5 separate regions of the Homo sapiens genome follow, and all the other regions are linked to region 2. Evidence: promoter capture Hi-C in human tissues and cell types (Jung and others, 2019). All regions are on one chromosome and are shown on one strand. Each heading gives the region's core, a stretch centred on a gene start or on the middle of the fragment in contact. The rest is flanking DNA. Distances are from core to core; before and after follow the strand shown.

What was found. Contacts are between HindIII fragments. The study calls those that stand out against the background at their distance.
Region 1: the fragment with the promoter of POLR3H here is called in contact with the fragment with the promoter of L3MBTL2 in region 2 in 1 of the 25 tissues and cell types used here (heart right ventricle).
Region 3: a contact is called between a fragment that was not itself captured here and the fragment with the promoter of L3MBTL2 in region 2, in 1 of the 25 tissues and cell types used here (heart left ventricle).
Region 4: the fragment with the promoter of PHF5A here is called in contact with the fragment with the promoter of L3MBTL2 in region 2 in 1 of the 25 tissues and cell types used here (hippocampus).
Region 5: a contact is called between a fragment that was not itself captured here and the fragment with the promoter of L3MBTL2 in region 2, in 1 of the 25 tissues and cell types used here (pancreas).

Annotation. Positions count from the first base shown.
Region 1 is chr22:41,543,095-41,547,630 of GRCh38, forward strand. It overlaps POLR3H (RNA polymerase III subunit H), which reads right to left and starts at 1,376. Exons shown (of 6, transcript NM_001018050.4): 1 at 897-1,376. The coding sequence starts at 1,007. RefSeq lists enhancers at 737-1,574, 897-996, 1,007-1,096 and silencers at 1,147-1,276, 1,467-1,566. The HindIII fragment of the contact is 26,348 bases long and covers 1-4,536 here.
Region 2 is chr22:41,204,060-41,208,081 of GRCh38, forward strand. It overlaps L3MBTL2 (L3MBTL histone methyl-lysine binding protein 2), which reads left to right and starts at 1,253. Exons shown (of 17, transcript NM_031488.5): 1 at 1,253-1,327. The coding sequence starts at 1,304. RefSeq lists an enhancer at 2,097-2,597. The HindIII fragment of the contact is 28,306 bases long and covers 1,115-4,022 here.
Region 3 is chr22:40,738,118-40,742,727 of GRCh38, forward strand. No RefSeq gene overlaps it. Among named protein-coding and RNA genes, the nearest start is that of MCHR1, 61 kb to the left of the region's middle. The HindIII fragment of the contact is 6,483 bases long and covers 47-4,610 here.
Region 4 is chr22:41,465,990-41,470,030 of GRCh38, forward strand. PHF5A (PHD finger protein 5A) reads right to left here and starts at 2,703. Exons shown (of 4, transcript NM_032758.4): 1 at 2,613-2,703; 2 at 2,135-2,158; 3 at 1,459-1,625. The coding sequence starts at 2,664. It overlaps ACO2 (aconitase 2), which reads left to right and starts at 3,128. Exons shown (of 18, transcript NM_001098.3): 1 at 3,128-3,193. The coding sequence starts at 3,158. RefSeq lists enhancers at 2,433-3,102, 2,672-3,233, 3,234-3,795. The HindIII fragment of the contact is 2,873 bases long and covers 686-3,558 here.
Region 5 is chr22:41,652,862-41,657,227 of GRCh38, forward strand. XRCC6 (X-ray repair cross complementing 6) reads left to right here. Exons shown (of 13, transcript NM_001469.5): 9 at 668-829; 10 at 4,042-4,171. Among named protein-coding and RNA genes, the nearest start is that of XRCC6, 34 kb to the left of the region's middle. The HindIII fragment of the contact is 3,766 bases long and covers 1,125-4,366 here.

The DNA of each region.
Region 1 (4,536 bases), core at 126-2,625, 340 kb after region 2:
TAAGGTCCCTGCTCTCAAGGAGAGGGAAAGGAAAAAGTCTAAGAAGGAAAGAGAGTGATGTGACACAGAATACCTGGAAAGGGAGGACTGTCAAAGAAACGGCAGTGGGAAGACCTCTCAGCTGGTACTAAGGCACACAGGCACAGCACAGAGAAGGCGCACAAATATTGGCTGCTGGAATGAAGGGATGAACCTCCTGACAGTTAATTCTGTACTACTAGAACTCTCCATCTTCACGAAAACAATGCATTGACCCGAGGCGATGGCGCACACCTGTAATCCCAGCACTTTGGGAGGCCGAGGCGGGGGGATCAAGAGATCGAGACCATCCTGGCCAAAATGGTGAAACCCCGTCTCTACGAAAAATACAAAAATTAGCTGGGGGTGGTGGCGCGCGCCTGTAGTTGTCCCAGCTACTCGGGAGGCTGGGGCAGGAGAATCGCTTGAACCCGGGAGGCGGAGGTTGCAGTGAGCCGAGATCGCGCCACTGCACTCCAGCCTGGACGAAAGAGCAAGACTCCGTCTCAAAAACAAAAAACAAAACAAAACAAAACAAACAACAACAACAACAAAAACAATGCATGGCTGGAAGGACAGCAATATTTTATCCCCATTTTAAAAATGGAAACTGAGGCCCAGAAGGGGTCAGTAACTTGCCTGCAATTGCAAAGTAATTTAGAATTGTGGAATCTAACACTTCCAGTTACAACTCCCTTTTTCAAGCCCATTTTCTTTTGATCCCCTTCAATATCTCCTTTCACGGTGAAGAAAAGTTCTGAGACATTAAGCTGCTTGCCCACGGCCAGGGCTTGGCATGACCGAGGCCGGGCCTGCGGCCAGTGGGCGGCGCTCGCTCTCCCACGCCAAGGCCTGCCCGCGAGCCGTGGGCCCAGTACCTTGTTGGCCAACTTCTTGTTCAGCTCCTCGGCAATGGAGTCGTTGAGCTTCCTCTCAAACTGCCAAGGGGGGATCCGGACGGTGTCCACCATTTCCACCAGGACGAACATCCCGGCCTGCGCTGGGGGCTCTGGGAACAGGAGGGTCAGTCACGCACCAGGGCCGGGGGCAGGGAGAATCCCCGAGCCCCTTGGTCCCGTCCCAGTCGCTGAGGCCCCCAGGCTGGCGGTGAGGTTGCACGGGGCGGTCTCGGGGGCCCGGTCCGGGCCATGCTCCGCTACTACAACATGAGGAAACTGAGGCCAGAGGGAGGCACTCTCCGTCCACAGCTCCGGGTGCGCGCCCGCGCCGCGAGACCCCGCCACGCCACGCCACTCCACGCCACGCCACTCCACGCCCCGCACCCGCGCCACGTGCCGCCGCTCGTATCACGCACCACGCACCACGCACCGCGCACAGCCGCTCGCGCTTGCGCGACTGCGGGCGAGATTCCGAATCCATCGCTTCCGGAAAACTCACCAATAAGAAACCTCTGTCCACCCCCACCCCGCCGAGGCGGGGCGGGGCTGCCTGTGTGCTCGCGCACAGCGTGGGGCAGAGAGAGGGCGAGGAGAGGGCGGGGCCTCCTCCTTTCACAGGAGCAGAGCGGTTCCCCCGCCCCCGACAGCGCTTTCTGTTGCTAGGCGACCTCCGTGCAATCCCGCCTGATTATCCCTCGCCTGGCCTGTGCTTTACCCGCATTGCTGTCCTCTGCTCGGCAGCCAGAGTGATCCTTTGGAAACGCAAACATATATTACCACATCTAAGTTAAAAAAAAAACCCACCGCAAACATAACATGCTTAGCACCCTTAAGTGTTCCGGAGACAAGGAGAATTAGCAGGAAAGGGGCACTTGGGACTGTTCTGAGATGATGGAAATGTTCTGTATTTTGTTTTCGGTGGTATAACATTGACGTATATAATTGTCCAAACTAATTGAACTCGGCAAGATTTTTGCATTTATTTGTAGACATTATGTTCCAATTGAAAAGTTATAATAAATTGGAACAAAAAACACAACCCATTGAACTTAGAATACTAGATCCAAGCCGGGCGTGGTGGTGTACACCCGTAGTCCCACCTACTCAGAAGCCTGAGACAGCAGCATCGCTTGAGTCCAGGAGTTTGAGGTTGCAGTTTGAGGTTGCATGCTGCACTCTAGCATGGGTGACAGTGACACCTCATGTCTAAACGAAAAAGAAGAAGAAGGAGAGGCGGAAGAAGAAGAAAGAAGAAGGAGAAGAAGAAGAAGAAAGAAGAAAGAAAAGGGAAAGAAGAAAGAAAAGAAGAAAGAAAGAAGAAAAGTCCAAAACCTTTATGGTAGTTCACACGGCCCTGCAAGATCTGACCATACCCCCCTCCTATAGCCCCATCATGCTCTGTCTCGCTGACATTCCAGTCTCATTCATCTTCACGTGATAGCATGGGCTAAGAGAATTTGGTAGCTTACCCAAGATCACGTGTTGACAAGTGGTAGAGGTGGGCCCAGTCTGAACCTCACTACCCTGCCTCTAAAAATTGGTGGGGTGTAGATGTATACTGTAGTGGGTTTTTTTGTTTGTTTGTTTGTTTGAGACGGAGGATCGCTCTGTCGCCCAGGCTGGAGTGCAGTGGCGCGATCTTGGCTCACTGCAAGCTCCGCCTCTCGGGTTCACGCCATTCTCCTGCCTTAGCCTCCCGAGTAGCTGAGACTACAGGCGCCCACCATCACGCCTGGCTAATTTTTCGTATTTTTTTTTAGTAGAGACGAGGTTTCACCGTGTTAGCCAGGATGGTCTCGATCTCCTGACCTCATGATCTGCCCACCTCAGCCTTCCAAAGTGCTGGGATTACAGGTGTGAGCCACCGCGCCCGGGCTTGTAGTGTGTTTTAACCAAAATAACAATTTAGGTACTTACAAAAGATACTTGGGGTAAATGACAGAGGCACTTGGAAATGTATGGTGCCTTAATTTGCTGATTTCACAAGCATAGTGATCTCTCAGTGACACTGGCTGCAGTGATGCTAAATGTGGCCTTCCCTGCATCTATGATTTTATTTTTAGGTGTGCTTCTATAGGATTTGAGGTACTTGAGGACAGCAGCAAATGCTACTTCAGCTCTTTATTCCCACAATCCCCTAACACATTCCTAGGAAGCATTGAGTAAAGGTGTTTAGGGATTACCATTAATTCTTCCTCTCAAATGTTTCCTCTTCATTCCACTCCCACTGCTATTGCTTCGGTTCAGGCCTTTTCTTTTTTTTTTCTTTTGAGACGGAATCTTGCTCTGTCGCCCAGACTGGAGTGCAGTGGCATGATCTCAGCTCAATGCAACCTCCACCTCCTGGGTTCAAGCGATTCTCCTGCCTCAGCTTCCCAAATAGCTGGAATTACAGGTGCCCACCACCACACTTAGCTAACTTTTGTATTTTTAGATAAGATTTCACCATGTTGGCCAGGCTGGTTTCGAACTCCTGACCTCAGGTGATCCCCCCCATCTTGGCCTCTCAAAGTGCTGAGATTACAGGCATGAGCCACCGTGACTAGCCAATATCTGGTCATTTAAAAGTATGTGGCGGGGCCAGGCGTGGTGGTTCACACCTGTAATCCCATCACTTTGGGAGGCCGAGGTGGGTGGATCACAAGGTCAGGAGATTGAGACTATCCTGGCTAACACGGTGAAACTCTGTCTCTACTAAAAATACAAAAAAAAAAAAAAAAAAAAAAAAGTAGCCGGGCGTGGTGGCACGCGCCTGTGGTCCCAGCTACTTGGGAGGCTGAGGCAGAAGAATCACTTGAACCCGGGAGGCAGAGGTTGCAGTGAGCTGAGATCACACCACTGCACTCCAGCCTGGCGACAAAGTGAGACTCCGTCTCAAAAAAAAAAAGTGTGTGGTGGCCAGGCGTGTGGCTCATGCCTGTAATCCCAGCACTTTGGGAGGCCAAGGTGGGCGGATCACCTGAGGTCAGGAGTTCAAGACCAGCCTGACCAACATGGAGAAACCCCGTCTCTACTAAATACAAAATTAGCCGGGCGTGGTGGCGCATGCCTGTAATCCCAGCTACTCAGGAAGGCTGAGGCAGAAGAATCGCTTGAACCCAGGAGGTGGCGGTTCTGGTGAGCAGAGATCGCGCTATTGTACTCCAGCTTCGGCAACAAGAGCAAAACTCCATCTTGAAAAAAAAAGTGTGTAGCACCTCCCTCCTCCCACTCTCTCTCTTGCTCCTCTTTTCCCCATGTGATGTGCCTGCTCCTCCTTTGATTTCCGATATCATGGGAAGCTTCCCGAGGCATCCCTGGAAGCTGAGCCTATGCCAGTACCATGCTTGCTGTAAAGCCTGTGGAACCATGAGCCAACTAAACCTATTTTTTTTTTTTTGAGACGGATTCTTGCTCTGTCGCCCAGGCTGGAGTGCAGTGGCATGATCTCGGCTCACTGCAAGCTCCACCTCCCGGGTTCATGCCATTCTCCTGCCTCAGCCTCCCAAGTAGCTAGGACTACAGGCACCCGCTACCACGCCCAGCTAGTTTTTTGTATTTTTAGTAGAGATGAGGTTTCACCGTGTTAGTCAGGATGGCCTCGATCTCCTCACCTCATGATCCACCCGCCTTGGGCTCC
Region 2 (4,022 bases), core at 3-2,502:
GAAAGACCTCTAGGAAGAGTTTGACATCTCCACGGCGGACTTCAAATTTAGGCATATATTTTATATGTATTCAGCCTCCACATATTGCATTTAGAGTCTCAATTAATTCACTGGGACACGGCATGGCATAGGGAAGGAATCTGTACTAAATTTGGAATCCCAATCCTGTGTGATCTTGGAAAGTGCCTAAACCTGAAGTGGTGAAGAGCCACCACTTCCTCTTCTTTCAAACGGTGATAGGATGTCTAAGGGTTTGAAAAGATGTTTGCAAAGCTCCACAACAGCACCTAGAACTCAGGGTGTCTAAGGAGGTTGTGGGAAACCCTAACGGGATGAGGCAGAGAGCCTCAGATTCGAGGTTTTTACCCAGGAGAGAGTGGTGAAGGAGGAATGTTGTAAGATTTTGAGCAGGCTGGACATTTACAGTATTGAGAAAAAGAATATTCCAGTTTCAGCCGGGCGCGGTGGTTCACGCCTGTAATCCCAGCACTTTGGGAGGCCGAGGCGGGTGGATCCCGAGGTCAGGAGTTCAAGACCAGCCTGGTGAAACCCCGTCTCTACTAAAAAATACAAAAATTAGCCGGGCTTGGTGGTGGGCGCCTGTAGTCCCAGTTACTTGGGAGGCTGAGGCAGGAGAATCGCTTGAACCTGGCAGGCGTAGGTTGCAGTGAACCGAGATCGCGCCACGGCACTCCAGCCTGGGCGACAGGGCAAGACTTCGTCTCAAGAAAACACACACACACACACACACACACACACACACACACACACACACACACACAGAGTATTCCAGTTTCTTCCTTTTTTTTTTCTTTTTAATCTGGAGTAGTCCAGTTTCTGCCTGAGTTGGAAATGAGTCCCTCTGCTATGCATCCCAGCAAAAGGGCACCTTAAATATCTAACCCGGGAGAGTACGAGGTTATTCCTGGAGTCTGGAACAGTGACTATCATAGGTGCTCAATAACCGTTTAGGGAAGAATAACATCCAGTGAAGTCAAGAGGTTGGCGTAATTGGAACACTCGGCGTGAGGCGCACCAGGTTTCCAGCGCCCCTGGTTTCCACGTCGCTATGGTAACGACTCACCCTGCACACATGCGAACTACAATTCCCATAACCGCCCGCGGCTTCCCCGCCCACAGGGAGAGAATGGCGGGAGCAGGCACGGAACCGGCTTTTCCTCCTTCCTGCAGCGTGATTGGCCCGCGGCTCAGGGAGGCGACCAATGAGTGCTCTCGCGGAGAGCGACGGGGCAGGCCAATATGGCTTCCTGCACCTGGTGACGCTTGGCGAAACTGAGGTCTCATGGAGAAGCCCCGGAGTATTGAGGTGAGAAGGCGAGGACTTAGCGTGACTGGGAAAGGGAACTCCGAGAGCCTCGCTCCGTGGGCCCTTCTTTAGGGCTTTTAGCGACGCCTGGAGGGTGGAGGGTGGGAGGATGGATAAACTGAGGTAGTTAAACTGAGCCAGGGGCAGAGGCAATTGACGTTACTTTTTGCCCCTCTCCTGCTGGGGCCAACGTTCGGCGAGGAGTTCAGGGAGGAACAGCCGTCCCTGGCCTGGGGGAAAGGGAACTAGGTTTAGGATCTGAGAGCTCCTGAATCTTCCTTATCCTGCTTGTCTCGTGGCTGTGTTGTTTAGGGCTTGTGAGGCCTGTTACATGAGGTGGGAAGTGAAGGGAGATTAAAGTTGGGTGAACATCACTCCTTGTCTGTAACGTTCACGTGCATTATCTTCCAGTACACTCACAGCAATCATGTATTATTCTTTCGTCTTTGTCGTTCAAGCCACTGAGGCTTAGAGGTGGTGCGACACCCCAGGAAGTTACCCCGGCTGGAAAGTGAAGGAGATTGGCACTAAGTCTGTCCGCCTCTGAAACTTTGCCTGTTATGCTTTTCACACTGTACTGCAACCTGGAACCCACTCATCCTTTTTTTTTTTTCTTTCAGACGGAGTCTTGCTCTGTCACCTAGGCTGGAGTGCAGTGGCGCGATCTCGGCTCACTGCAACCTCCGTCTCCCGGGTTCAAGCAATTCTGTCTCCATCTCCCATGTTCCTGGGATTACAGGCATGTGTCACCACACCCGGCTAATTTTTGTATTTTTAGTAGAGACGAGGTTTTGCCATGTTGGTCGGATTGGTCTCGAACTCCTGACCTCAGGTGATCTGTCTGCTTCACCTCGGCCTCCCAAAGTGCTGGGATTACAGGCATGAGCCACTGCACCCCGCCTCATCCTTTAATCATTTGGTTTCTGGGCACCTTATATTTAAGAGACGGGGTGTTCCTATGTTGCCCTGGCTGGAATGCAGTGGTTACTCACAGGCGTGATGACAACGCACTGCAGCCTCTAACTCTTGGGCTCAAGCAATCCTTACACCTCAGCCTCCTAAGTAGCTGGGACTATAGGTGGTCTCTGTCACCCTGCCTGACAAGGGTACCTATATTTGAATTGTTTCCTTGCTGGGTGCGGTGGCTCACGCCTGTAATCCCAGCACTTTGGGAGGCCGAGGCGGGCAGATCACGAGGTCAGGAGATCGAGACCATCCTGGCTAACATGGTGAAACCCCATCTCTACTAAAAATACAAAAAAATTAGCCGGGCGTGGTGGCAGGCACCTGTAGTCCCAGCTACTCGGGAGGCTGAGGCGGGAGAATGGCGTGAACGTGGGAGGCGGAGCTTGCAGTGAGCCGAGATCGGGCCACTGCACCACTGCACTCCAGCCTGGACGACAGAGCGAGACTGTGTCTCAAAAAAAAAAAAAAATTGCTTCCTTTCTAGCATATTTGCATGTGTAGTTGCAAATATAAGGTGGAATAGCTCAAACTTTCTGCAAGGGTAAACGAGAATAATCATGTGGAGAATAAGAATAGCAAGTCACACTTTTAGAGCTGTTACTGACTGCTGGAAATAGAACTAGGTTTTACATATCTTATCTCAATCTTCGTAAGAATTCTCTAAAGAAAGCTTATTACCTCTCTTGTAATGATGACAGCAGCAAGATAAAATACGCACAAAATCACACAGTTAATAAATGTTAGAGCCAGGATTCAAACTCAGGCAAATCAGAGCCTATGCTTTCAACCAGTAAAAATTGGCAACCTTTATTGAGCACTTACTATATGCAAGTCACTATTCTGAGAGCTTTGCCTGTATCGTCTCTTACTTCTCCCCCAAATCCTTTTTTTTTTTTTTTTTTTTTTTTTGAAACAGGGTTGCTCTCTGTCACCCAGGCTGGAGTGCAGTGGTGCAGTCATAGCTAACTGCAGCCTTGACCTCCCTGGCTCAAGAGTTCCTCCCACCTCAGCCTCCCTAACCAAAACACCCAGCTAATTTTTTCCATTTTTTATAGAGACAGGGTTTCCCTATGTTGCCCAGTCTGGTCTTGAACTCCTAGGCTCAAGCAATCCTCCTGTCTCGGCCTCCCAAAGTGCTGGGATTACAGGCATGAGCCACCATGGCCAGCCCCCAAACCCTATGAAATAGGTGGTACTATCCTCATTGTACAGATGTGGAAACTGAAGCACTGCAAAATTGACTTGCTGCAGGTCATACAGCGAGTAAGCACTAGAGATATTTGAGCTCTGGACCAGAGGCCAAACTTTTCTCCTTTCTTCACACCTTTTTTTTCCTTTGAGACAGTGTCTTCCCTCTGTCATCCAGGCTGGAGTGCAATGGTGTGATCATGATTCAGTGCAGCCTTGACCTCCCAGGCTCAAGCTGTCTTCCCACCTCAGCCTTCTGAGTAGCTAGAGCCACAGGTGCATGCCACCACCACCCAGCTTTTTTTTTTTGAGAAGGAGTCTCACTCTGTTGCCCAGGCTGGAGGGCAGTGGTGCAATCTCGGCTCACTGCAACCTCCAACTCCTGGGTTCAAGTGATTCTCCTGCCTCAGCCTCCCGAGTAGCTGGGATTTCAGGCACCCACCATCATGCCCAGCTATTTTTTGTATTTTTACTAGAGATGGGATTTCACCATGTTGGCCAGGATGGTCTTGAACTCCTGGTCTTAAGTGATCCGCCCGCC
Region 3 (4,610 bases), core at 2,038-4,537, 460 kb before region 2:
CAGTGAGCCGAGATTGCAGTGAGCCAAGATTGCGCCACTGCACTCCAGCCTGGGTGACAGAGCAAGATTCCGTCTCCCAAAAAAAAAAAAAAAAAAAGAAAAAGAAAGAAAGAAAACATGGTACATATACACTATGGAATACTACACAGCCATAAAAAGAATGAAATAATGTCCTTTGCAGCAATATGGGTGGAGCTGGAGGCTATTATCCTAAGTGAATTAACTCAGGAACAGAAAACCAAACACCACATGTTCTCACTTATAAGTGGGAGCTAAACATTAAGCACACGCTGACACAAAGAAAGGAACAACAGACCTAATTGTGGGTGGAGGGTGGGAGGAGAGTAAGAATTGAAAAACTACCTACCGGGTATCATGTTGACTACCTGGGTGACAAAATTATCTGTATACCAAACCCCCATGACACACAATTTACCCATGTAACAAACCTGCACATGAGGCCAGTTAAAGTGGCTCACACCAGTAATCCCAGCACTTTGGGAGGCCGAGATGGGAAGATCACCTGAGGCCAGGATTTCGAGACCAGCTTGGCCAAAATGGCAAAAACCAGACTGGCCAAAATGGCAAAAAAAAAAAAAAAAAAAAAAAAGAAAGAAATACAACAGTTAGCCAGGTGCAGTGGCACATGCCTGTAGTCTCAGTTACTCAGGAGACTAAAGCATGAGAATGCTTAAGCCTGGGAAGCGGAGGTTGCAGTGAGCTGAGATCGCACCACTGCACTGCAGCCTGGGCAACAGAGCAGGACTTTGTCTCAAATAAATGAATAAATAAATAAAAGTTGGAAAGAAAATAATTATGCTTTCAAAACCACTTCATAACATGGGGAGCTGGATATGTTCTGATGTAGAATAACAAACAGACGCAACTGTGCTTATTACACTGATTTAAATGATATACATCACAATCGTGGTTTTATAGACATACACTGTGCACAGACAAATAAATGAGGAATACATTAAATATTAACAATGGTTGTTTGGAGGTGGGAGAACTGTGGGTGGTATTTTCTTCATCCATTTATCTAACTGATCCAAGTTTTCTTCAGGGAGGAAACTTGTATAAATGAGGGCATACAGGCCCGGCGCGGTGGCTCACGCCTGTAATCCCAGCACTTTGGGAGGCCGAGGCAGTCAGATCGCTTGAGTCCAGGAATTCGAGACCAGCCTGGACAACATGGTGAAACCCCATCTCTACAAAAAATACAAAAATTAGCTGGGTGTGGTGGTGTGTGCCTGTAGTCCCCGATACTTGGGAGGCTGAGGTAGGAGCATTGGTTGAGCCCAGGAGGTGGAGGTTGTAGTGAGCTGAGATTGTGCCACTGCACTCCAGCCTGGGTGACAGAGTAGACACCCTGTCTTCAAAAAAAAAAAAAAAGGGGGCAAAAATTTTAAATCATGTCACGATTGGGAGTAATTTAGGCAAAACTTGCCTGGGAGCAAGGAGTATAGACTAGAAAATTGTTTGAAGTTCATGCTTTTGTAACAAGGGCCGGTTCTAGAATTTGGCATCAGATGGGTAGCAGCTTTGGAAGGAAGCATAAGAAAGGGACACACGAGGACTCCACACAGCCCCAATTGTCACTTTCCACCACCACATATCCTCTTTAATTCTGAGAGTATTCAAAGGAGTTTAACCATTCAGTGGATGATACAATTATCACAGTGGCATAGCCAGTTGTCCTGTTAACAGCCATCACATGTGACCCTGGGGAGCCCAGGCTTCTTTCGTGGTCAGACCTAAACCTGCTGAGAGAGGGTGGTTTCATGTTAGTCACTGACAGAGCACATCTCCAGCTCTCACTGTGGAATCCAAGTTTTCCTTTCGCCTTCCTGCCTCATTTGGTTCTGCCCATTTGCTTGGAGCCAGAAAGGGAAAAGGAAGAACACAGGACATCCTCTCCGCTCTGCAACTGACCCAGGTCTGTCTATAACACCTCCTGACAGTGCCCAGAAATCCTCCTATTTAAACCATTGGCCCCTGATGCGATTTCTTTTCCAAATATGCTCATAGATCATTGCAGAGACAATGTTAAACTCGAGAGCATTATCATCTGTATAAATCAGTCTCATCTTTAACCGTAACTCAGAGCTTCCATGTAGGAATACGCACCGAAACACAGGCTACCGTCTGCGTTCTCATGGAGCTTACGATTTAGCTGCACTGATAGGATATTTACACATGAAGAAATAACAATGTAAGAAAATTCATAGACACTAATTTTTAGGGACAAAGCAAACGTCTTTTTTTTTTTTTCCAGACTGAGTTTCTTTCTTATTGCCCAGCCTGGAGTGCAATGGCACGGTCTTGGCTCACTGCAACCTCTGCCTCCTGGGTTCAAGCGATTCTCGTGCCTCACCCTCCCAAGTAGCTGAGGTTACAGGCACCCACCACCATGCCCAGCTAATTTTTTTCTGTTTTTAGTAGAAACAGGGTTTCACCATGTTGGCCAGGCTGGTCTCGAACTCCTGACTTCAGGTGATCTGCCCACCTTGGCCTTCCAAAGTGCTGGGATTACAGGCGTAAGCCACCACTCCCAGACACAATCTTGTATGGATGGCTATCATCCAAAATAATTGCAAGCTTCCTGTGGGGGCTGGGATTGCTTCATAGTCCTCCATACACCCCCTCAGGGTCCCCACAATGCCTTGAACACCATAATGCTCTGGTAAATGTTTTGGTCTGGAAATTCGATGTCATTCTAAGTCCATAGTCCTTGTCTAGTTAGACACTGGTGCTTCTATCCTAACGAAGGTGAGTCTTCCTCTCTGCAGATGGTACAGTCAAGATGACCTAGCTGTAACCTGGCTACTAGAGGACCAAGGAGAAAAATAAACTTCTACCACGCTTTCGAAAACAAGCACTCAAACTCAGGAGATACTTGATTGAAGTTGAAAGAGTGGTGCATTCCCCAAGGCAGTACCCTCATGAATGGGATTAGTGTCCTTTAATAAAAGAGACCCAAGAGAGGTCCCTTGCTCCTTCCAGCATGTGAGATTACAGCAAAAAGATGCTGTCTATGAACCAGAAAGTGGGCCCTCACCAGACACTGAATCTGTCGGCACCTTGATCTTGGATTTCCCAGCTTCCAGAAGTGGGAGAAATAAATTTCTCTTGTAAATAAGATAAACAGTTTATGATATTTTATTATAGCAGCCCCAAGGGACTAAGACAGAAATCCAGTTGTACACCAGATGGTTGTAACACGTTCAGTGGAATGAAAACCTTGTGTCTTGGCAGGGTGCAGTGGCTCATGCCTGTAATCCCAACGCTTTGGGAGGCTGAGGTGGGAGGGTCACTTGAGGCCAGGTGTTCAAGACCAGCCTGGGCAACATAAGGAGATGTCCAGATAGCCGGCAAAACAGTGTTCCTGGGTAGGCCTGTGATGGTGTTTCCAGAAGAAATTAGTGCTGTGAGTCGGTAGAGTGAGTAAAAAAGAGTCTCTTAAAAAAAATGTTGGCCGGGCACGGGGCTCACGCCTGTAATCCTAGCACTTTACAAGGCTAAGGCAAGTGGATCACTTGAGGTCAGGAGTTCGAGACCAGCCTGGCCAACATGGTGAAACCCCATCTCTACTAAAAAATACAAAAATTAGCTAGGAATGGTGGTGTGTGCCTGTAGTCCCAGCTGCTCAGGAGGCTGAGGCATGAGAATCACTTGAACTCAGGAGGTGGAGGTTGCAGTGAGCCGAGATCGTGCCACTGCACTCCAGCCTGGGTGTGGTGGTATGCACCTGTAGTCCCAGCTACTCAGGAGGCTGAGGCAGGAAGATCGCCTGAGCCCAGGAGATTGAGGCTGCAGCACTCCAGCCTGGGCAACAGAGCAAGATCTGGTTTCCAAAAAACCCAAAAAAACCTTGTGTCTTCATGTGGAGATTAAGTATGGTTTAAGGAGATGTGTATGGATGACAAGTTCAAAAAGGATGGTCGTGTGATGGTTAATTTTATGTGTCAGTTTGACTGAGCTAAGGGATGTCCAGATAGCTGGCAAAACAGTGTTCCTGGGTAGTCCTGTGATGATGTTTCCAGAACAAATTAGCATTGTGAGTTGGTAGATTGAGTGAAAAAGATCCTCCCAGGTGGATCGCGAGGTCAGGAGATCGAGACCATCCTGGCTAACACGGTGAAACCCCATCTCTACTAAAAATACAAAAAATTAGCTGGGCATGGTGGCGGGTGCCTGTAGTCCCAGCTACTCAGGGGGCTGAGGCAGAAGAACGGCGTGAACCCGGGAGGCAGAGCTTGCAGTGAGCGGAGATTGCACCACTGCACTCCAGCCTGGGCGAGAGAGTGAGACTCTGTCTCAGAAAAAAAAAAAAAAATTAGAAAAAGATCCTCCCTGTCAGTGGGTATCATCCACTGTTGAGTGGACAAAAGGTGGAAGAGGGGCGAATCTGCTCTTTCTGGGCTGACATCCATTTTCTCTTGCCCTTGGAGGTCAGTGCTCCTAGCTCTTGCTTTTGGGCTTAGACTGGGACTTACATCATTGTGCCTCTGGTCCTCAGTCTTCAGATTCAGACTGAATTATACCACCAGCTTTCCTGGTTTTTCAGCTTGCAGATGGCAGATCCTGGGACTTCTTGGCCTCCATAA
Region 4 (4,041 bases), core at 1,453-3,952, 260 kb after region 2:
TCATAATAATAATCCCTATTTCACAAACTTATTGTGAGGAACAAGGTGTGATAACATCTATAAAAGACCTATTCTTCGCTCATGGGAATATGAAGAATTACGCATCTTTTGCCTTATTCTGAATTAGAATTAAATTAGATAACTAGGTACCATCATTAACCTAGTGAGACTGTATCATACTTCCTTTTGTTTTTTGAAGAAAACAAGCTGATTCATAGTTTTCTCCCACAAAGAACCCTGCTGCCAATACTAACCGAAAAAAATGGGGTAAATCTTGCCTGTAGCACTAGTCTATAAGCTCTCTCTCCTGGCATTTGGCTCAGAGTTGAATAGAAAGTAGCCACTGCCACTACACAGTGTCAAGGGACAAAAAAAATCACGATGCAGGTCCACAATCATTTCTGCAATATTAAACCAAAGGCATCTGTTACCTGCTTAAAGCTGAAGTCAACTTGAATTGTCCCAAATTCAACTTTGTCACGATATACACCCAAATAGTGCTTAATGATAGATTTAAGTGGCTATGACACAACATGGGCTGTACAGGACTTATAAACAGACAGGGTCTCTGTCACCCAGGCTGGAGTGCAGTGGCGTGAAAATGGCTCACTGCAGCCTTGACCTCTTGGTCCCAAGTGATCCATCCGCCTCAGTTTCCCAAGTAGCTGCGACCACAGGTACACACCAGCACACCTGACTAATGAAAAATATGTTTTTTTGGCCAGGCGTGATGGTTCATGCCTGTAATCCCAGCACTTGGTGAGGCTAAGGCAGGAGGATCACTTGAGCCCAGGAGTTCGAGACCAACCTAGGTAACAAAACAAGACCCTGTCTCTACAAAAAAAATTTAGCCAGGTATGGTGGCGCATGCCTGTAGTCCCAGCTACTTGGGAGGATGAGATGGGAGGATCGTTTGAGCCCAGGGGGTCAAGGCTGCAGTGAGCCTTGCACATGATCATGCCACTGCACCCCAGCCTGGGCCACAGAGCAAGAGACCCCATCTCAAAAAAACAAAAAACAAGAAGCAAAAAACAAAAAACAAAACACTTTTTTTTTTTTTGAGATGGGATCTTGCTCTGTGGCCCAGGCTGGTCTTTAACTCCTGGACTAAAGTGATCCTCCTAACTTGGACTCCCAAAGTGCTGAGATTACAGGTGTGGGCCACCACGCCCAGCCGGATGTCATTTCTGAATAAGAATAACCACAGAGACATGAATGAGAGGGCTCTCCAAATTGCTGGTCTTGACAAAGATTTGCTTCCCTTGCATTCTTCCCCTTGATGCAAAATAACTGCCTTTTATTGGACTACACCCAGTTTGACTCACAGAACTTGAAGAAATTATAACCTAGATGACTAGATGAACACAGTAATCTCCATAGACCATAGGAGATTGCAGTGGATGGCAAAGTGTTACTAAACAAAAGGAGGAAAGGTCAGATGGAAAGCTGTACACTTACGTCCTTCTCCTGGATGGTGCACTCCTTACAATAATAGGCATCAGAGACCCCAGGTCCTCCACAGATCACACAGCGCCCCTGGTAAGATCCATAGTTACACTCATCACATATGCGCACCAGAGTGCAGGGACGCACATAGGAGTCACAAATCACACACTTGCCATCACCTGTAAGGAAGAGAATGGAGTCATGCTCACAAGTTCTTCAGTCCTCTGCTATCTCCTGCCATGGGGAAATATACTAGTCTCCTGGGAAATACACTAGTCTCCTTTTGACAGTGACTTTAGGGCCCTCCTCTTGGCATCACAAAACTTGGTTTCCCCAGTGTCCATCTCAAGCCCCTCAACACATACAAAAGTTTACCAATTAACATATGTGAAGAGCTTAGAAAAGCACCTCGGAGATGATAAGCCTGTATAATTGCTGGCAAAGTGCTGTGTGTTGGGGAGGGGTCATGCTACTCTGGCGATTCTTCCCGTTGAAAACTAGAGAGATACAGCGTTAAATGTGCAAGCGGCAGTGGGGAGTTAGAGGGGCCTTTGGCTAAAGTGCAGCATTCAGTGTTCACATACTTCCAGGCACATCTACTCAAAGCCCTCTTTGTGGCACTTTTGCTGGTTCCACAGAAAACTGGGAGTGGGAAGGGTGGGTTGTTGGGACGGTGTGTTCCACTCACATTTTTCACACAGTCTTCCGATGGCTGCAAGATGAAAGATGGTAAAAAGTACAATTAGAATAAAGGTTTTGAGAAAGAGGAGAAGTACATCCTCGAGCTGGGGGTAGGGACATGAGTAAGGACTGCAGTGAGTGAGACCTGCGGATAGCCATTTTATCATTACAAATTTCCATATGAACCAAACCTACATCCAAGCACCCTCCTGAATCTCCTCCAACGCCCTGGGCAAGCTCAGAGTTTCTCTGGACCTGGTTCAGACCCCACCCCCCGATACCTGCCTGGGGCTCCCAGCACGCGCACCCCCGCCCTCTTCTCATCAGAGGCCACAAACCTGCGCGCTCCTACAACACCCCGCGCCTGAGAGGCGGGAAACGTGGCGCCTGCGAGGCAAGCCCCTAAGGAAGAGACGGGAACCCCCGACCCCCCAGCTCCTAATACCACCCCTGCCCAGACAGCCAGGGGTAGGGCGCAGTCTCACCAACACCAGCCTGCTTGCGGCAAAAGATCAAATCAGGATGATGTTTAGCCATAGCTCCTAACTAAGCCGGCCACCGGAAGCTTCGGGAACTTCCGTCCGACCTTTAACCCCCATTGTTCCTGCCTCCACGTCGCTGTGATTGGTTCTCTAAGCTTCCGTCAGTTTACAATCCTTGCACCAGGCCCGTCTTGCTCTCGCGCGAGTTTTTGTCGCTGCTGGGCGGCCAGGTCCTGGCAGGTGCATGAAACTCTTAAAAACTCTCCCAGATTTGGATGGCGGAGATAACTAAAATTTGTTCTTGGGTAAAACATCTTTGTGCTTGGTATCTATTTCTGCAAGTGTCTTTGGGCAGTCCGATTTCCTCTTGCGTGTCTGTTCGTTGCACGTGAGCTCCGCCCATTGCGTTCACAGGGTTCTGGCGCCTCTAGGGAGGCCTCGCCTTCACCGTGACGCCCCACTCTTCCGGGCACGCCCCTGCCCAAAGGCTTTAAAGGCGCCGTGTGGGACGTCACTTTAATGCGACCTCATCTTTGTCAGTGCACAAAATGGCGCCCTACAGCCTACTGGTGACTCGGCTGCAGGTGAGCGAGCTCAGGGACCTCTGGGTTCACGGGGGCGGGGTGCCTCCTACTGTGCCGGCGGCTGTGGGCGAGGCAGGGCGAGGCGGGCCCAACCTGGGGCCAACTTCTCGTGTACCTGTCCCGGTTGTGGGCCCGGCACCCGTGCCCGCTTCTCTGGTGCCCTAGGTCAAGGCGTCCCCGGCACAGTCAGCTTTCCTGGCCCTGTCCCTGCCTCGCAAGAAGCGTGGGCCCAAGCAGCGGCGGCCGGGTGAAGAGCGGAGGCACCTCTTTCTTCTTTTTGAGGACAGCATTGCCTGCTCCCGTGGGGTGTGTTTCCATTCCTCAAGGTGAGGACAAGGTGACTAGGGGGCGCGGTCGTTGTTGAGTCTTCTAGGCCCAGTTCCTGAGGCCTCACTTCCCATCTCTTAGCAACAGAGGCATGACAGCATCTACGGTTGCCAGGCCTGGAGTCTGGAGAAGAAACTAGGACCCTGTACCACCTTTTGAGGACCCTGCGGAACGTGGAATGTCGGGGAGGGGGGCGGTCTTCTGGGCCCATACGTAGTAAATAATATAATAATAGTCTCTCACCTTTGCACAAGATTTGAGGCCTGTTTTAATTCTTCATAATATTATTTGATTCCTGTAATCGTAGGAATGAGGTGGTTTTTCTCATTTGATAGATGATAAAGCTGGTAGAAAGTAGGTGAAAGTTCTGATTCTCAAGAGTGTCACCGAAGTGCTGTGGCAGAAGCATGGGCCCTACCACCACTCAGTTCTTGTTTATGTCAGCCTGCCCTCACAGAACTTTATGAACCACGGTGCAATTATTTCTGTTTGTCAGAATGCAGTACGAATATTTTGAGCCT
Region 5 (4,366 bases), core at 1,758-4,257, 450 kb after region 2:
TGGGGTTTTACCATACTGGCCAGGTTGGTCTCGAACTCCTGACCTTGTGATCCACCCGCCTGTGCCTCCCAAAGTGCTGGGATTACAGGCGTGAGCCACCATGCCCGGCCATAATTCACTTTCTTAAGTGGAATGTTTGGGGCTTCTAAACCTCTTATTCCTTTTTAAATTTTCCTTTCTGTGTCTCTGCTGTCCCCATTTTCCCCTCAGCTGTGGGGTCCTCCAACCCTTACCTGTTGAGATATTATAAGCCCTTTAAAGGCTTGGTGTGGTGGCTCATGCCTGTAATCCCAACACTTTGGGAGGCTGAGGCTGGAGGATCACTTGAGCCTAGGAGTTGGAGACCAGCGTGGGTGACTTAGAGATACTTTGTCTCTACAAAAAATCTTAAAACTAGCTGGGTGTGGTGGTGTGTGACTGTAGTCCCAGCTATTCAGGAAGCAGAAGTGGGAAGATTGCTTGAGCTTGGGAGGTCAAGGCTGCAGTGAGTTCTGATTGCAGCACTGCACTCTATCCTGGGTGACAGAGCGAGACCCCGTCTCAAATAAATAAATAATAAAATTAAAATAAGCCCTTTAAAGAAAATGGAAGAGAAACTTTAGGGCTAAAAGAGAAGAAAGGAGGAAACCTTTTTAGGAGGCTAGTCACTGGGCTTTTTGTTTTCTAGGGAGCTCAACCCTGTTCAGTGCTCTGCTCATCAAGTGTCTGGAGAAGGAGGTTGCAGCATTGTGCAGATACACACCCCGCAGGAACATCCCTCCTTATTTTGTGGCTTTGGTGCCACAGGAAGAAGAGTTGGATGACCAGAAAATTCAGGTGACTCCTCCAGGTATGTGGCAGAGATATTTCCAGGGCTTCTGAACCTTGCCCATACTTTGGAATCATCCATGGACTCCTAATGCAGACCTACTGAATCATAGTCTCTGGGAATGGGGCTTAAAAATGTCTATTTTTAAGCTTTCTTGGGTGAATTTAGTGCACAGCCAGGTAAGGCCACTAAATATGGTGATGGGGTGCACAGCATGCGCAGCCGTACAAGGCTGATCTGCAGCTAGGATAGAGAAATGTCTGCCTAGGGGACTGTTTGCAGATTACTGACACAAGTTCTTGGGACCTCACTGCCGACACCTTTCTTTCCAAAGCCATTGTTTGGCACCCTTGTAATGTCTAATGTTTGGTTTAGTTCCTATACAAACCAACCATGGGGTTTGCCAAGATAGTGAGGTATAGCGGAAAGACCATGGATTTTAAAGTCAGATTTGACTTTATCTTGTGCTTATGTGTCTGGAAGCTTGCTTGCTTTTGTTTTGGGCCCATCTCTGCTGCTTGTTAGCTGGTCAACGTGGGCAAGTAATTTAACCTTTCTGTTTAATATTCCTTAGCTACAAAGATGGGCGTTCTGGAGCACCTTTCCCTCGGGGTGGTTTTACATTTGAGATGAGTTACTGTAGTTTTAACTTTGATCCTCAGCATGCTCAGGAGTGCTCAGTTACTAAGCTATTGTATCTCAGCTCCAAATTCACCCTTTTATGCTCTGCACTACTGAGGCTGAAATGATCCAAACCTAATTTCATCTTTCACAGCTGGCTCTCAGGCTGTGTCTATAGTGGGTGCTAGAGGGAGACCAAAGGGCAGAGGAGAGGTGAGGGATTTGCTTCTTCCTGTTTGCTCAGTGTGGTCAGCATTGTCAGCAAAGGCTTTCACCTGGTAGCAGCAGTTAGTTACAGGGCGTAGATTTTTTAGTCCTTCCAGAACCAGCCAGTAACTGAACTAAAATCAGCCTGATAACTCTTACCTGTTTCCTTTTATTTATCACGTGGTAGAGGGTAAGGAAAAAAGGGGCGAGGGTGAAGCTCAGAGAAGGCCCCCATGGAGCTGGGACTTAGCCCTCCAGGGAGGAGGCACTGTCCGGCTAGCTCTGGATGTATCAAAAAAGCTGGAGACTGGAACCAACTGCCGCCAGGTAAAGGGTCTTTGCTGGGGCAATACAGGTAGGAACAGTAAATACAGGAGGGCCGCAACCACAGTTTTGCTTTCTGCAGTTTCAGTTACCCATAGTCAACCATGGTCCAAAAATTTTAAGTGGAAAATTCTAGAAATAACTTAAAAGCACAATCCCACCTGGGGCAGGAATCATCTGTTTGTTCAGCATCTCCACACTGTAAATGCTACCCACCAGTTAGTCACTTAGTAGCTGTCTTGGTTATCAGATTGACTGTCAAGGTAATCAGTATTGCGGTGCTTGTGTTCAGGTCACCCTTATTTAATAACGGCCCCAAAGCACAAGTGTAGTGGTGCTGGCAGTTTGGATATACTAAAGAGAAAGTCATAAAGTGCTTCCTTTAAATGAAAAGGTGAGAGTTCTTGACTTTAAGGAGGAAAAAAATATATGCTAAGGTTGCTAAGATATATGGTAAGAAGGAATCTTCGAACCACAAAATTGTTAAGGGAAAAAATTCATTTTAGTTTTTTTTTTTTTTTATGCTGAGGTTGCTAAGATACATGGTAAGAAGGAATCTTCTATCCACAAAATTGTTAAGAAGGAAAAAGAAATTCATCTTAGTGGCCAGGCGTGGTGGCTCACGCCTGTAATCCCAGCACTTTGGGATGCCAAGGTGGCGGATCACGATGTCAGGAGATTGAGACCATCCTGGCTAACACGGTGAAACCGTCTCTACTAAAAATACAAAATTAGCCAGGTGTGGTGGCAGGCTCCTGTAGTCCCAGCTACTTGGGAGGCTGAGGCAGGAGAATGGTGTGAACCCGGGAGGTGGAGTTAGTGAGCTGAGATTGCGCCACTGCACTCCAGCCTGGGTGACAGAGCGAGACTCTGTCTCAAAAAAAAAAAAAATAGTTTTTTCCCCCCCTTCTTTTTTTACATAAATTGAGACAAGGTCTCACTATGTTGCCCAGGCTGGTCTCGAACTCCTGAGCTCAAGTGATCCTCCTGCTTCAGCCTCCCAAAGTGCTGTGCTTACCGACGTGAGCCACCATGTCCGGCCCAAGCTAGTTTTCCTGTTGCACCTCAAACTGTAAAAGTTACTGCCACAGTACATGAGAAGTGCTTAGTTAAAATAGAAAAGGAGGCCAGGCACTGTGGCTAATGCCTGTAATCTTAGCACTTTGGGAGGCTGTGGCAGGTGGATCGCCTGAGCCCAGGAGTTTTGAGACCAGCCTGAGCAACATGGTGAAACTCTGTCTCTGCAAAAAAATAAAAAAAAGTAGCCAAGTGTGGTGGCATTCACTTGTAGTCCCAGCTACTTGATAGGCTACTTGAGCCGGAGAGGTAGAGGCTACAGTAAGCTGTGATCACACCACTGCATTCCAGCCTGGGTGATAGCAAGATCCTGTCTCAAAAAAAAAAAAAAAAAGATGAAGGCTGGGCGCGGTACCTCACGTCTGTAATCCCAGCACTTTGGGAAGCCGAGGTGGGCAGATCCCCTGAGGTCAGGAGTTTGAGACCAGCCTGGCCAACATGGCGAAACCCCATCTTTACCGAAAGTACAAAAATTAGCCGGGCGTGGTGGCGCCTGTAATCCCAGCTATTCAGGAGGCTGAGGCAGGAGAACCGCTTGAACCTGGGAGGCGGAGGTTGCAGCGAGCCGAGATTGCCCACTGTACTCCAGCCTGGGCGACAAGAGTGAAACTCCATCTCAAAAAAAAAAAAAGATGGAAAAAAACATTAAATATTAAATTTATGAACGTATGACATGGACAAACATGTTTCAATTGACGGCAGTCAGGTTTGGTGCTGTCCGAGGTTTCAGGTATCCTCCCGGGTTCTTCAAACATATTCCCCAGGGATAAGGGATCTACTGTATACAGGAAGGGGCACCCCTCCTCCCTTGCAGTCTTCTGGAAACTGCAGAGGGAGTCTGTTAGGCAGATGATAACAAAAACCAGCTGGTGGAGTTCAAGAAATGGGGCCTACGGGGCCCCAGCCCCAGCACCACAGGACATAAAAGGAAGAATTTGGAGCTGAGAAACAAGTGACTGCAACACTTGAAGTCAAATCAAAGAAAATTTATCTCCTTTCTTCAGGCTTCCAGCTGGTCTTTTTACCCTTTGCTGATGATAAAAGGAAGATGCCCTTTACTGAAAAAATCATGGCAACTCCAGAGCAGGTGGGCAAGATGAAGGCTATCGTTGAGAAGCTTCGCTTCACATACAGGTGAGTCAATCTCAGGCTTTCTGGAACTGCCTCCTGAGTTGAAAATCTTATTAGAAACAGCTTGGGCATAGGCCAAGAGAATGGCACTACTCTTTTCAGCAAACTGACAGATTACTACTTGTTATTAATAGTTTTTTGAAAGCCATATAGAGAATGGAACCTTTTATTATGTTGGAGACTCTGGGATTTTGTGGT